Regions from separate parts of the Homo sapiens genome. Here region 2 is linked to region 1. Evidence: promoter capture Hi-C in 16 types of primary human blood cells and fetal thymus (Javierre and others, 2016). All regions are on one chromosome and are shown on one strand. Each heading gives the region's core, a stretch centred on a gene start or on the middle of the fragment in contact. The rest is flanking DNA. Distances are from core to core; before and after follow the strand shown.

Evidence for each region. The method cuts DNA at HindIII sites, captures the fragments that hold promoters and counts their contacts. A CHiCAGO score of 5 or more calls a contact.
Region 2: a contact is called between a fragment that was not itself captured here and the fragment with the promoter of ACO1 in region 1, in 2 of 17 cell types (naive B cells and monocytes). The highest score is 6.0, in naive B cells.

What each region holds. Positions count from the first base shown.
Region 1 is chr9:32,380,020-32,387,306 of GRCh38, reverse strand. It overlaps ACO1 (aconitase 1), which reads right to left and starts at 2,664. Exons shown (of 21, transcript NM_002197.3): 1 at 2,572-2,664. RefSeq lists a silencer at 2,484-2,863. The HindIII fragment of the contact is 14,350 bases long and covers 1-4,682 here.
Region 2 is chr9:32,601,419-32,608,705 of GRCh38, reverse strand. It overlaps LOC105376015 (a long non-coding RNA gene), which reads left to right. Exons shown (of 2, transcript XR_929553.1): 2 at 4,239-4,799. Among named protein-coding and RNA genes, the nearest start is that of TAF1L, 31 kb to the left of the region's middle. The HindIII fragment of the contact is 964 bases long and covers 2,447-3,410 here.

The DNA.
Region 1 (7,287 bases), core at 1,415-3,914:
AACCACTGGCTCCTTGGGACACTTACTATCAATGGCCTAACTCCTCATTTTAAAGTCAAAGACACTGAGACCCAGAGAAAGTGTCTTAACCCGAGGCTGGCCCAGTGACTGGCACCAGGTTGGAGGTAATTTCCCTGTGAATCTGGCTGCCTCACAGGAAATTACTTCCTATGTAGAAGGAAGAGTGGGGGAAAGAAGGCAAAGGAAGTTCTTTGCCAGGCACGTGGTGATACACGTTGGTTTTTATCATCATCTTCACAGTGTGGGACTGGTTTCTTCAGCACATGCCTTTGAAGCACACTTTAGGTAGGGGGTACTGCTCTTCACACAGGACCAGCTTTCATGTACACACTCTGACTATATAATAGACTATCTCAATTAACCAGCAGTTATCAAAGCTATCAGACCATAATTGCCAGAAAGACAGGGACTGCATCTTTTGTGCTCACTACTTTCCTGGCATCCCGCACATAACTGGACACATGAGAAATAGGTGGCCAATAAAAATCTACTGAAAGAATGAAGGAATGAGACCCCACCATCAAAGTGGAATTTTTTAATACAAAGAACACAGCAGGTGCTCAGAGTTTAGATCCCATTTCCTTCTCCTGTGGACTTCTCCTCCTCCTCACCTGTGGACTGTGCAACACACACAACACGCTCATGTGCATGCAACATTTCTCAAGTATCGGCTGTAGCATTTAAACTGATCCATCAGAGCACAAGAGGCTCTATGGATGAAGGAACAAAAGGGAGGATGGAGTTAGAAAATTTCTTCCTCCCAAATATATACACATAACATCTGTCTTGAACTTGTTCTGACAAGGCACGAAGCTAAGGAAAGAGTCCCGTGAAGGACCTCACCTACCACACTCCAGGATGGTGGAAACTGCTTTTTGACAGGGGCTGAGGAAGCACCACTCAGAGTGACACCCTCTGAAAGTGGAAAGTGAAAGAACGTCAAGACTGGAAATCATTATTCCAATAAACTCAAGGCTAATAACCATGCAACTGCAAACAGAAATGAACACGTGCAAGGGAAGGCAAAAGCATGCCTCCTTGTTCTTTTGGAAATAACTTCCTGACTACTTGGTAACTCTCACAGGAACCCCTACACACTTGGCATGGTCTCCCCACTGGCACTTTTGTGAGCCTACAGGTCCTGTTTGCCACATCACTGTTGTAATCCTGATGCACAGACAGGTCAGCTCTGCAAGCACAGAGACAACCAAAGGCATGTGCGAAGCCTTGCTGACTTTTCAGGAGGCTGGCAAGGTTCATCACAGCCTCACGTGGGGACCTAGTACATGGTTTCCAAAGTGAGATCAAACTTGGTTCCAGATACCAGAGGTTAATACTGTCCATGGCATGAGGTGGTGTGTGTTCCCAATCAGAGGAAGGATCACAAACAAGAAGCAGGCCCAATGAATGAAGCCTCTGAAGCATTTCCTACACCAGCATCCTCAAAGTGTGGTGCAGAGAACTCCTAGGGATCTCCAAAGTCAAAACCATTTTCCTAGTAATAAAATGTTACTTGCTTTTTTTCATTCACACATTTTCAGGAGTATACAGTGGAGGTCTCAAGAGGCTACATGATATGTGATATTGCAACAGACTGCAGAAGCAGCTATCAGAATCCAGCTGTCTTCAATTACGCTTGACATCAAAGAGATTTGCAAAAATGTAAAACAATGCCACTCTTCTCAATCATTTTCTGTTTTGGGAAATATAGTTCTTTTTCATAAAAATAGGCAATGTTAAGATATAATTAGTTCACTATTCTTTTTAAATGAATTATTATAGTACAAATTTCTCAGTCTTACTTACATATTATAAATATGGATAGATATAACACACATAAAAGCTCCTTAAGATACTAATTTTTAAGAGTGTAAAGGAGTACTGAGTACCAGAAAAGTTTGGGGACTTCTGTCCTAGAGGTTGTCCCCCAGGGAAGAGAGTTACATGTGTTGCAAGAAGGAAGATGCCATTATGATGTGCTAGCTGAATCTAGAAAAAAATGACTTGGTCATAACTGCAGCCCAAGCTCCTTTCTAGATCTCTGAATCTATCATGGTGGGCTCTGTGTTCAAGCCTCCCACGAAGGGTCTCTTCCCCCTCATCCCATTTTCCCTTTACCCCTTGGAGTGGATTCCCGGATCTGCCCGCACAACTTTAGCAAGGGTTTCCCTATCCAGCCAGCCGGGCCTGGGCGAGGACTCCCAGTGCGGGCCTCACACCCTCGGGGTTAGGACTCCCAGGACTGGCCGCACACCCTAGGCAAGGACTTTCAGGACAGCACGCACAGCCAAGGCTAAGAAGGGTCTAGGAAAGCCACTTCCAATCCCTGGTTTCTCTCCCCGGCATGACATAGACTGGGGACAGGGTGGAGACGTCAGTCGCCAGAAACACGTCCCCGATTCTCCTCTCAGCCTCCCCAAGCTCGCCTCCGTGTCCCCCGTGCCGCCACTGCCTCGGGCACCTCGGTAAAGGCCCGCACCGACTCTCGAGGGATACAGGGTGGACGGCGCTCCCGCCTGGGGACGTGGGTCGGGCCGCGTCGGTACTCACCTCCGACTGCACGGCGGGGCTCCCGCGACCGGCGAACCTGACCCAAGCAGCGGGACGCGTTCCCGTGCGCTGCGCGGTTCCAGCTGCCGCCTCCACGCTCCGCCCCCTCTCGCCCCCGGGGCCGCCGCGCGATGGGCGGAGCAGGGGCGGGAAGGGCGGAGCAGGGGCGGGACGGACGGGCAGCTAGCCGAAGAAGGGGCGGAGCCTGCGGGCGCCCCCGCGGGCCTGGAGGACTTCGCCCCGGGCTGGAGGCTAGGGTTGCGAAGGGCTCCTCCGCTGGAAGTGGGAGGGCTGATCCCTCGGCCCGGGTCCGCTTCTGCCAGCATGGGACCTGGGACGAGGGTGTCTGTTGCTCACTTTGGAGCTTAGCATGTGACTCCCCAGCCGGCGTTAGGAAGTGACCAAAGGGTGGGGAAGAAATGGAATTATTTTTAAAAAATGATTTGGCCATAACTGGAGAGGCTTCATGTACGTGTGGTCACTTGGCCCGCCTCCCTTCTCACTTTGTCCGTCCCCACCCTACCCACCCTCTCCACCCTCGCCTTAATTCTTTGCGCAAAGCCTGCCAAGTGGACATCGGAGTCACGCTGTCAGAATAGGACTTCAGCATTTCCGTGGCAAAAGTTCTATATGTAGATTTCCTTGGACATGTAACAACACTTTCTAATGCACGATGTTCACCGGTCTGAAGTCGGAGAAATGGCTGGGAGATGGCAGCAAGTGGGCTTTCACAAGATCTGCTTTTCATGTTGGTAGGAGTTGTGCCCTCTTGGGTGAATGGCGTTCAAAGAAGTGATTAGATCTTTCTAGATGAAAGGTGGTGAGGTTTTCCTGCCCAAATTATTTGGAAAGTTACTGTAGTTTTCTGAATAAGCAGCTTATAGGATGAGTAAACAATAGCCAGTACTAATAGCCCCCCTGCTACTTTATACTGCCCTCCTATTCTGCACAAAGCCCTGTGATCGACTCTTTCCACGTTATTCAGTTCAGCTCTTCCAACCACCTTACAAGTAAAGAATATTACCCGTCTTTGCAGGTGTGCAATGCGCAACAGCTGAGACTCAGTCCTTAGGTTGGTTTGACACCAAAGCCTACACCTTCCCTGTCATACTGCACTATAGGGTACAACTATCGTCTAGTTATATTTAACTTTGAAATATAAATACTTATATTTATTTTGAAAGGGGAAGTAACTGTATTTCCAATATGAGAGGAGACTGTTTTCCCACCCACTTCCTAAATCCTTTCCATTCACATTAGTAATTAAATTTTCTTTGAATGTCCACCATATGGCAGAGGTGCACCACAATCCCTGAAAAATCATGCTCCAGTCCCCTTGGGAGGTAGGGAGAGTAGGGGCAAGGTGAGAGTGAGTAGAAGGCTGGGGAAGTCCGATGAGGACACATCCAGCTAAATTGCGATTCTTAATGAGGCAGCCATTCGGAAAGCAAAGTATCTAATGTTCAATGATAACATCCGTGTAACTGAGAATCCTTCGCAGAAAACAATCAAATCAGAGCTATGAAGGGAATTGAGATTTATTAGTAAGCACGCTGGTCAAAACCGTGAAGGAAATAGTTCCACATCCCCCCAGTCTGTTGCTCTTGGACGTTGTCACCAGTGACGTGCAGATCGTGAATCCCAGGGCCTGTCCTCTGTTCCTGTCCTTACTCACTACTCTGTGGTATTTGACACTGGCGATTCGTTTTCCTAGAAATGTTAACCTCCTTTTGGCTTTTCAGCCCTCCGCTCTTAGGAGTCACCTCTTCCCTCTTTTGTCCCTCTTTTTTAAGGTCTTTCCCTACACTCTCTCCTCTTGCTTTATATGTTTCTCCATTTGCTGAGTTTTTCTTCATCTATTTTCTCAGTATGCAGACTGCCTGCCACTTCTAGCTGAAGCCTGCTATGTCTCTGTCATTGGTCTTAGTTAACTTTCTGACCTTCACACTCTTGATTTGCAGCCATATGTGGCAACCCCACCTGGATATTCCAAAGGTGTCTGTATTAGACCGTTCTCACGCTGCTGTAAAGAACCCTGAGACTGGGTAATTCATAGGGAAGGAGGTTTAATTGGCTCACAGTTCTGCATGCTGGGGAGGCTTCAGGAAGCTTACAATTATGGCAGAAGGGGAAGCAGGTATGTCTTACCTGGCAGCAGGCAAGAGAGTGTCCTCTGAATGCACAGTGGTCCTCCTGAATGCTTTGAGGGGACCTTAGAATCCCTAAATTTTTCACTGAATATATGTCTTCATACCAGAGAAAATTTGAAATAAACGTTTTGTTCCTCTTTAAGAAAAAAAGAGTTAAATTCATAACAAGGAGAGGCAGGTCTTAGCCTCATCTTGGCTCCCGGTAAATATCCAACGGCTCTCCCCTGATGCCCTCTTCCCACCACACCTGCTATACGTTTAATTTTCGTGCTCTCTTAATTACTGCCTAAGGGCCTGATCCCTGAGCTGCCTTCCCAGGGAACAAGAATCCTCTGGGCAGCTGCTTACAGTTTCTCTCAGTATAGCTAATAATAAAAATCATCCCCATGATCCAATCACCTCCTTCCCTCCACAGGTGGGGATTACAAACCATATCAGTGCCTGTCATTCATCACATCTAAAATGGGAATTTAGTGTCTTCTCTAACCATCTGTCTCTCCCCTCCTATCCATTTAGTTTCTTTTTCATCCTAATCCTGCATCCCGAATTTGTATTTCATGATCTGCTGAGAAAGCTAAATGTTTAAGGGGTATATTGCCATGGCATATTACTACGCTCTCACAGGGTCCACCTAACAAATATTTCTGTCACGATATAAAAGGTTCTGCTAATGGCCCAGCTGAGGGCATATACTCTAGGGACCTTCAGAGAGGATGCCACCCAAGCATGTAACTGCTCAGGCACCCCAGCTGTGCTCTGGTGGGGGGCAGAGGCAGAAGGACCTTCATTTGAAGTAACAGTATTGTTTTAGCAGCCTTACCTGCTAGAAGGCTCTGCTGCTATAAGAAGAACCATGAAGATTCTGCCAGAGACCTGTTGAGCTCTGAGGAATGCCTCATCATATTCCACACCGATTTCAGTTACTTGTATATGCTGGACTTCCTCAGTTTATTGAAAGGTCCTAGGAACTATACCCAACTAACTTTGTATCATGCTTTACAATTTATACTGCATTTTCACATACATGTCATTTAATAGGAAGGGAGAGGTGTAAGAGAAAAAGTCAAGCATAACGCTTCTCAAACCTTGGGGTACATTGAAAACATGCGTGCCTGTGTTGTGCTCTTAGGAGGCTGAGTTTGATGTGGGTGGTCAAAAGACCATGCTTTGAGAAACACCAATGGTAGTTCTCCGAATCTGGGTGTTTCTCAGATTTACCATAGGGCACTGATAAAAATATAGCCTCCTGTATCCTCTGCCTCCTAGAATGTCTGATTCATTAGGTCAGGGTGGGGGTCTGTGTTCAGATTCTGAATACGCTACATTTTTACCACAGGTGATTCTGCTGTAGCATGTCCCCAGATTGGCACCAAAGACCTGTTACCTAGAAATATACACTCCATGAGGGCAGGGGCCCATGTCAGTTTGTTCATCATCCCTAACATGGAGTCTGGTGCATAGTAGGTGCTCAATACAAGTTTGTTGACTGACTTACTGTCAGTGTCTTTCTATTGCTTACCCTTTGCTCTCTGTTGGCCTTTGCGCTGTTCAGAGTCCTCTAGAGTGGCACGGAGGGAAGACATCTGTTTGGCAATGAATGAAGTATAAAATGGTCCTCCTGAATGCTTTGAGGGGACTTTAGAATCCCTAAATTTTTCACTGAATATATGTCTTCATACTAGAGAAAATTTGAAATAAATGTTTTGTTCCTCTTAAAATCAAAGTTATATTCATAACAAGGAGAGGCAGGTCTTAGCCTCATCTTGGTTCCCGGTAAATAGCCAACTGCTCTCCCCTGATGCCCTCTTCTCACCACACCTGCTATACGCTTAATTTGCATGCTCTCTTAATTACTGCCTAAGGGCCTGATCCCTGAACTGCCTTCCCAGGGAACAAGAATCCTCTGGGCAGCTGCTTACAGTTAAGCACCATTCCTCTCAATATAGCTAATAATAAAAATCTTCACAACCGCCTGTTGATGCTGGTAACATTGTTATTGCCATAGTTTCACAGATGAGGAAACTGAGATTCAGAGTAGTTACACAGAATGCTTCAGTCATGAAACTTAAAGGGTGATCCTGGGGTTTTAGAGAAGGCTGGCCTCACTCCATAGCTTGTGCTTTTAAGCATTATGCAACAAAATCATCAGATACCCTGAAGCTGTAAATTATTTGTTCTTTGCAGAAGAGGGACTTAAATGTTCTAGAGAAAAGATTTGTTCTATCACCATATAGGCTGGAATTCCTTATTCACGTATTTCCAGGGCTTGTTCTCCCTGATGATAGCACAGAGATCCCTGCTGCAGCCATGTAATGTAGGGACACCTGGGTAAAGAGAGTCCTCATTCTGGGGGATGGAGGTGTTGGAAATCAGGGGCAGCTTGAGTATGAATTCCAGGATTGGTACATAATTCCTAGGTGTCTAGTACCATCTTTCACATGTGTTAATTTGCTGGATACTTTTTGAGTACTTTGTGTTATATATTTTTCAGAAGGGAGAGGGAAGTACTCTGCAGGATTGGTCCTTTAAATTATTTAGGTATACACAAAATAAAACATTTTTTTCA
Region 2 (7,287 bases), core at 1,679-4,178, 220 kb before region 1:
ATCATATGTGTTTTTAATATTTAAAAAGGCTCGCCCACAAAGCTACCTGGGTTAGATTTCTTTGGAGTGAATTCTATGATTTTTAAAAAATTTATTATTGGAGGGGCAATTCCTCAAGGATCTAGAACCAGAAATACCATTTGACCCAGCAATCCCATTATTGAGTATATACCCAAAGGATTATAAGTCATGCTGCTATAAAAACACATGCACATATATGTTTATTGCAGCACTATTCACAATAGCAAAGACATGGAACCAACCCAAATGTCCATCAATGATAGACTGGATAGAGAAAATGTGGTACATATACACCATGGAATACTATGCAGCCATAAAAAGGAATGAGATCATGTCCTTTGCAGGGACATAGATGAAGCTGGAAACCATCATCCTCAGCAAACTAACACAGGCACAGAAAACCAAACACTGCTTGTTCTCACTCATAAGTAGGAGCTGAACACTGAGAACACATGGACACAGAGAGGAGAACAACACACACCAGGGCTGCTTGCAGGGTGGGGAGTGAGGGAAGGGAACTTAGAGAATGGATCAATAGGTGCAGCCAACCACCATGGCACACATATACCTATGTACAAACCTGTATGTTCTGCACATGTATCCTGTTTTTCTTTTTTTAGAAGGAATAAAGAAAAAATTTTTTAAAATTTATTATTGGTATTCAGATTAGATCACTTCATCCTGAGTCAATTATGGTCATTTAATGTTTTTTCACATTTAAGTCTAAAGTTGTATATTGTTGCTAGGTTTATGACCTCAGAAAGGACTTTGTAATATTAAGGAAGGAAAACAAAAGGATAAAAAAACCTGGGAAGGTAGTTCTTCCTGGAAAGATTTATTGCAGGCACAAGAAGCAAATTTTAGACCTCATGTTTATTTAATTTTTTTTCATGAAATTCATGAAGATATAGGCTCTTTGAAATTCAAAAAAAAAGAAAGAAGAAACTTATACTGAGATGAGACCTGTACTCGAACAAGCAGCTGAGGTAGAACGAGAAACCAGGTTTGGGCTCTTAGGAACATCCTTACTCCTGGCAATAGGAGGTTCAAGAAATCTTTGTGGATGCATATGTGAAGAATTAATGAATGATTAGGAATATCAATTCTCACAGCGTGGTATAGTCTCATGAAAACTGTAGAAGATTGAGCTGGACCACAGGGAACTGGGGAATATCTCTGAGTGCTGTTTTTGTTATCTACTTGAGTCCTCTCCTCCACACCCCTTAAGGTTAGTTCTCCCAGCAAGGGTCCAGCGTGATTACTCTGCTCTGGGTTTTCTCTTACCATTGCTTGTTGCCACTCTCCTGGTTCACCTGTTCCCATCCCTGAGCACTGCGCAGGCCACAGCTTTTTTAACCACTTAATATCCCCAGCAACTAATCATGGTGTGTCCTTGAATTCTAGATTTCCTAAGGCTGCAAAGAAAATTAAAAACAGGCCGGGTATGGTGGCTTATGCCTGTAATCCCAGAGCTTTGGGAGGCCAAGGCAGGAGAATCACTTCAGGCCAGGAGTTCGAGAGCAGCCTGAACAATGTAGCAAGACCTCATCTCTAAAAATAAAAGTGTATAATTTAATAATTCTTAGTAAGTTTAAAGAGTTTTGCAATCATTACTGCAATGGAATTTTAGAACATTTCCTTCACCCCCAAAATAACCTCATTCCCATTTGCAGTCACTTCCTATTTCCACCTTCAGCACCACCCCCAACCCCCGCCACACAAAACCACTGATCTGCTTTCTGTTTCTATTGATGTGTCTGTGATGGATATTTCATATATTTATATTCATATGAATGGAACCATGGTCTTTTGTTTATGTCTTCTTTCACTTAATGTATTTGACATGCATTCATGTTGAAGCATGTGTCAATACTTTGTTCCTTTTTATGACTGGAATAGTGTTCTGTTGTATGGATATACCACATTTTTCTTATCCATTCACCAGTTAAAACATTTGGGTTATTTCCATTTTTTGGATATTATGGCTAATGTTCTCAGGAATATTCATATACAAATCTTCATGTGAATGTAGATTTTCATTTATCTTGGGTAGATAATAATGGCTGAATTGTTGGGTCATATGGTGACTCTATTTAGTATTTTAAGAAACTGAAAAATGTTTTACAAAGTGGCTGCACCATTTTCCCGCCAGCAGAATACAAGAGCTACAGTTTCTTTACATCCTTGTCAATATTTGTTATTGCCTGTCTTTTTATACATTGGCTTGGTAAATATTTGTAATAATGTGCAGAACCCCATGCCACCTTTGTAGACCCTCAGATGGAAGCTGCTGTCTGGAATCACATTCTGAGAAATGGATTAATGATCCTTCATTGATGCTTAGGACCTATGTACACCTTCTAGCTGTTGTATTAAACTCTAAAAACTCTAGTATTTTTGTAAAAATATCATACTACTTAAAGCTTAGGGTGTCCATGTGTCAACAACTATTAATTATACTCCAGTATCCAGTCTCCCCTTCTTACACAGGGGGCAGTCAAAGAGTCCCATTTTCCAGCCTCCCTTGCAGCTAGATGTAGCTATGTGATTAAGTTCAGAAGAATGGGATGTGAGCAAAAATGTCATGTTCTCTTAAATGGAGCCAGGCTTTTACCTCTTTCCACATCCTCACTGATGGGAAGGTGGAAGTGAGGGTAGCCATCCTTAGACCAAAAACAGATACTAGGTGCTGAGATTGGCAGGGCATTAAGACACAGGAGGCTTGGGCAACTGGTGATTGCAGGGCCTCCATTCCAGCCCTGGATTGCTTACCTGGATTTTAACATGAGAGATAAGTATCTTGTTTAATCCAGTGTTATTTTTTATTTATTTTGTATTTATTTGAGATAGAGTTTTGCTCTGTTGCCCAGGCTGGAGTGCAGTGGCTGCAATCTCAGCTCACCGCAACCTCCGCCTCCCGGGTTTGAGCAATTCTCCTGCCCACCATCTCGCCTAGCTAGTTTTTTGTATTTTTAGTAGAGACGGGGTTTTGCTATCTTGGCCAGGCTGGTCTGGAACTCCTGACCTCAAGTGATCCACCCACCTAGGCCTCTCAAAGGGCTGGGATTACAGGCATGAGCCACTGAGGCTAGCCCCAGTGTTATTTTGAGGCTCTCTGTTATAACAGCCAAAAAGTGAAATTACTAACATCTAGAATGGCTCTGTAGGAACATGGCTAGAATATGAGAGTCTCCGCTGATGAATATGATCATACAAGGAAAAGCAGGGCAATGGAGACAAAAAAGCCTGGGAAGAAAATCAGGACACTAGAATTTTAGTAGCATTTTTACCTCTAGTCAGCTTTGTGATCTCAGGCAAGCCTTATATTTCTCTGTCTTCATCCATGAAACAAGATGGTTTTGTACAATTGAAAATAAATGCTTAAAGCTTGAAAATAAAAAGCATCTGGTTTCAGAAGTACTTCATTATATTCCTAATCACTGGTAAAGCAACTCAGTACTACAGGCTGGGAAGGAGAGGGAAGGGAGACATAGGGATAGATTTGTAGAAGAATACAAAATTACAGCTAGATAGAAGGAATGAGTTCTAGTGTTATATAGCGCTACAGGATGATGATAGTTAACAATAATATACTCTATAGTTTCAAATAGCTAGCAGGAGGATATAGAATGTTCCCAACACAAAGAAATGATAAATGTTTGACATGATGGCTATGCTAATTACCTTGACCTTATCACTATACATCATATGTGTTGAAACATCACTATGCACCCCATAAATATGTACAAATCATTATGTGTCATATAAAATATTTTTTTAAATTAGGAAAATATATAAATGTAAACCTTTGGTATCAACTTTCTTAAATAAAATAGATGTTAATCATCTTCAGCAGCTGCATCAGTGAGAATGTTAACATGGGGCTAAGAATTTTCCTATACACAGTATTAGCTTTTTAAGTCCTCCCAATGGGTGCCATTATTGTCTTCATTTTACGAATAAGGAACCGGAGGTTTAATGAAGTTAAGGACCTTGCCCTGCCATGCAGATAGTTAGTGGTGGAGCCAGGGTTTCAGTTCCTGAACCCGGAACACAGGTGTTTGGCCACTGCTACTCTGCCTCCATAACTATACCCAACACATACCAGAAGATCAATAGTGATGGCCAGTGGCCATATGACCACTTTAGCTATTGTGACTAGAAGGGATTATCATAGTTTAAAATGAATAAACAACTCTTCCTAATTTGCTCACTAGGTTAAGGTGACATGGGAAGCGATCATTGTGAGTCATCCAGGGAACACAGGGAGAGTTAAGCTGATGGTGACGCACACCTGCCAACTGCTGAGAAGAAGATAATCAGCCCTCAGGAATTTTCGACCCAGCCGCACTGCACAGCCTGGTTGCTGGACTCCTAGGACCAAGCCTCCTGGGCCTGGCAGGCAGCTGTAATTCAGAGTGGGTCGGGGCTCCAGGATGTGTTGTTTCCTGTGCATTGCACTTCGCAGAGGCACAGAGCAGAAGCTAAGCCTGATGGCCTCTGAACACTGGTTGGGTTTTTTGTTTTTTTTTTTTCCTGGCAACAAAATTAAAGCCGCACCTAGGGATTTATCCACCCTTTTGCTGATCTCGATGTGAACTGTGCAGCTGAATCCCTGCACACAGTACTGACTCTCTCAGGGTGTTGCTTAAAATGTGGCTGAGCACAAATGCAAAACATCGTCTTGTTGAAGTCAGCACACAGAATTAATCTCTAAAAGTAATGAAAGAATTAGTTTCACTTTGTAAGATAAATAAATGCAAAGTATGGTGAAGTCAGAGATGTTCAGCTCAGTTGCTTTTAGACGGCGACATCTTTTGAAAATGATATTATATATTTGGGACACATTTTAATGCCACTCTAATATTTTGTGTCATTATAAGGATGCTTTGGGTTTTTTTGTTGTTGTTTTTGAAGTCTATTATCATATGAGTTTTTTTTTTTTTTTTTTTTTTTTTTTTGAGACAGAGTCTCGCTGTCGCCCAGGCTGGAGTGCGTGGCGCGATCTCGGCTCACTGCAGGCTCCGCCCCCCGGGGTTCACGCCATTCTCCTGCCTCAGGCTCCCGAGTAGCTGGGACTACAGGCGCCCGCCACCTTGCCTGGCTAATTTTTTGTATTTTTAGTAGAGATGGCGTTTCACTGTGTTACCCAGGATGGTCTCAATCTCCTGGCCTCGTGATCCGCCCGCCTCGGCCTTCCAAAGTGCTGGGATTACAGGCGTGAGCCACCGCGCCCGGCCTAGCATATGAGATTTTTAACCTGCAACGATTCACCTTTAGTGAATTTTTAGTATTGGAAATGATACAAACTTCAAAGTGTCTTGTCCTTTTTTTTTTAAGCTCTTGGAAACATAAGTATGTGATTTAAGTAAATATAAAATTAGAAGCCATCTCAACACTAGAACTTATTCCTCCTATCTAGCTGTAATTCAGCCTCTAAAGTCAATGTGAAATAAGGCTCACTGTTTTTCACCCCATCCTTAATGTTATTTTTACCCTGACACTGAATTTCAGGCTTTGGTTTTTCTGAGTGTGGCCCACCTGCTTGAAAGTTGTTCTGAAAGTTTGAGGTAAAGGAAGTCAGATCAGAGAGCATTTTCCCCCAGTACCTAACAAAATGAATAAAATGACTGCATTTTAAAGGGCCAAAAATTTCTCATCAGTGATCAAGATTGAAAAAAGGGCAAAACTTCATGTAATACAGTTTTACTTTCAACTGTACGGCTTTCAACCTTGTAATGACACTTGCTTTTCAGAAAGAGAAATGAGGAAAGGTGAGTCAACAAAATTCTGATACTTTTTCTGAATTCGCCTTGATGTGAGGAAGAAGTGGATTGAGGCACGAGGAGGTGGGGAAACTGACGCGTAGGAGCCACTCTTCGTGCCACTGCAGACCCTTGCTAAGGCAGAGGAGTAGGCAGGGCCGGGCATTCTCCAGGGTGCTTGCTGAATGGGGGGATCAACCAAAGCCCTTGGGTTAGAAAATGTCCCATGCTGGGAAGACTGGCCCTGGTAAGGGACATTTGCTGGGGCTTGCAAGAGAGAATCCAGCCAGGCTAGCAACAACTGTAGGCAGCTCCTGATGACCTTTCCTCCTTCTCACAAATTTTCTGGCTAGAGAAAAGTAAGTAGAAAATAACAGCCAGCCCTCAAGTTTTTCTCCATAGGGGTGATAAATAGTTTCCAGGAAGAGGGTCAAGAAGAACTACAGTAGATCAGAGAAACTGAAGTTTATATCATAGCACTGCATAAGTTTAGCTTGAGCAAAATTAAAATAGATGTCATGTCAACCTTGCAAATGAGCCACAGAGGAGAGACGGAGAGAGAGACGGTTAACATGAACATAACAATCTCTGCTTCACAGGGTTGTTGGAAGGAGTAAAAGAGAAAAAGTATGTAAATACTGGACCACAGAACCTGATACATTCGAAGTACACAAAAATCATAGTCTCTCCTCCACTCCCATCCCTTGTTCATAGCCCTACATATTGTTTTTTGTTTTGTTTTGTTCAATTCAGGCTCACTTTGCATTCTTACAACACTGTAGATCTTTAGGTTGAGTAATTTATGGCTTAAAGCTAAATAATTATTTGCCAGCAAACTGTTCTTGAAAATATATAGCAGCATAGGAAAGGTCATGGGCTTTAGTGTTAAAACTAGGCTTTGATCCTGGGCCACCTCCTTGAGTTTGTGTTTTTAGGCAGGTTATACATTTAATCTCTCTGAGCTGACTTTTCTTCTTTATGAATGATATCAATAATCCTAAATTTGCTGTACCTGTATATGTATAAAGCACCTGGCACAAACTAGGTGCTCCTTGAGGTGGCACGGCTAATATCATTTTACTTTTTCAGATTGTTATACAAAACATCAACAAATTATTGTTTGTTACCCCAACTGCTTCTTTAGGAGGGTGAATTTTGTTACTGTAGAGTATCTTGTTTTGCAGAGCATCATGATGTCCTGGGGTCTGTAAGTTTATGAATTGAGGGAAGTGGCTAAATTGCTTGCGTAAGAAAGGGAAGGAAAAAAAATGAAAATGAAGGCAGGAGTTGGGGGTAGGATGATCAAGAATCTAGGGGAGAGAATTAAGCAGTGAAATCTGGGAGGATTCAGGGATAAAAATCCCTAGAGAGGATAAACCAGGAAGGGATTTGTGGAGGTACAAATATAGAATGTCAGTTTTTACCTTGTTTTCTTCAGGTTGTATGATATAGCTACCCTTCCTGTCCCCTCCTTCTCCTCCAGGACCCACAGAGTCTTCAG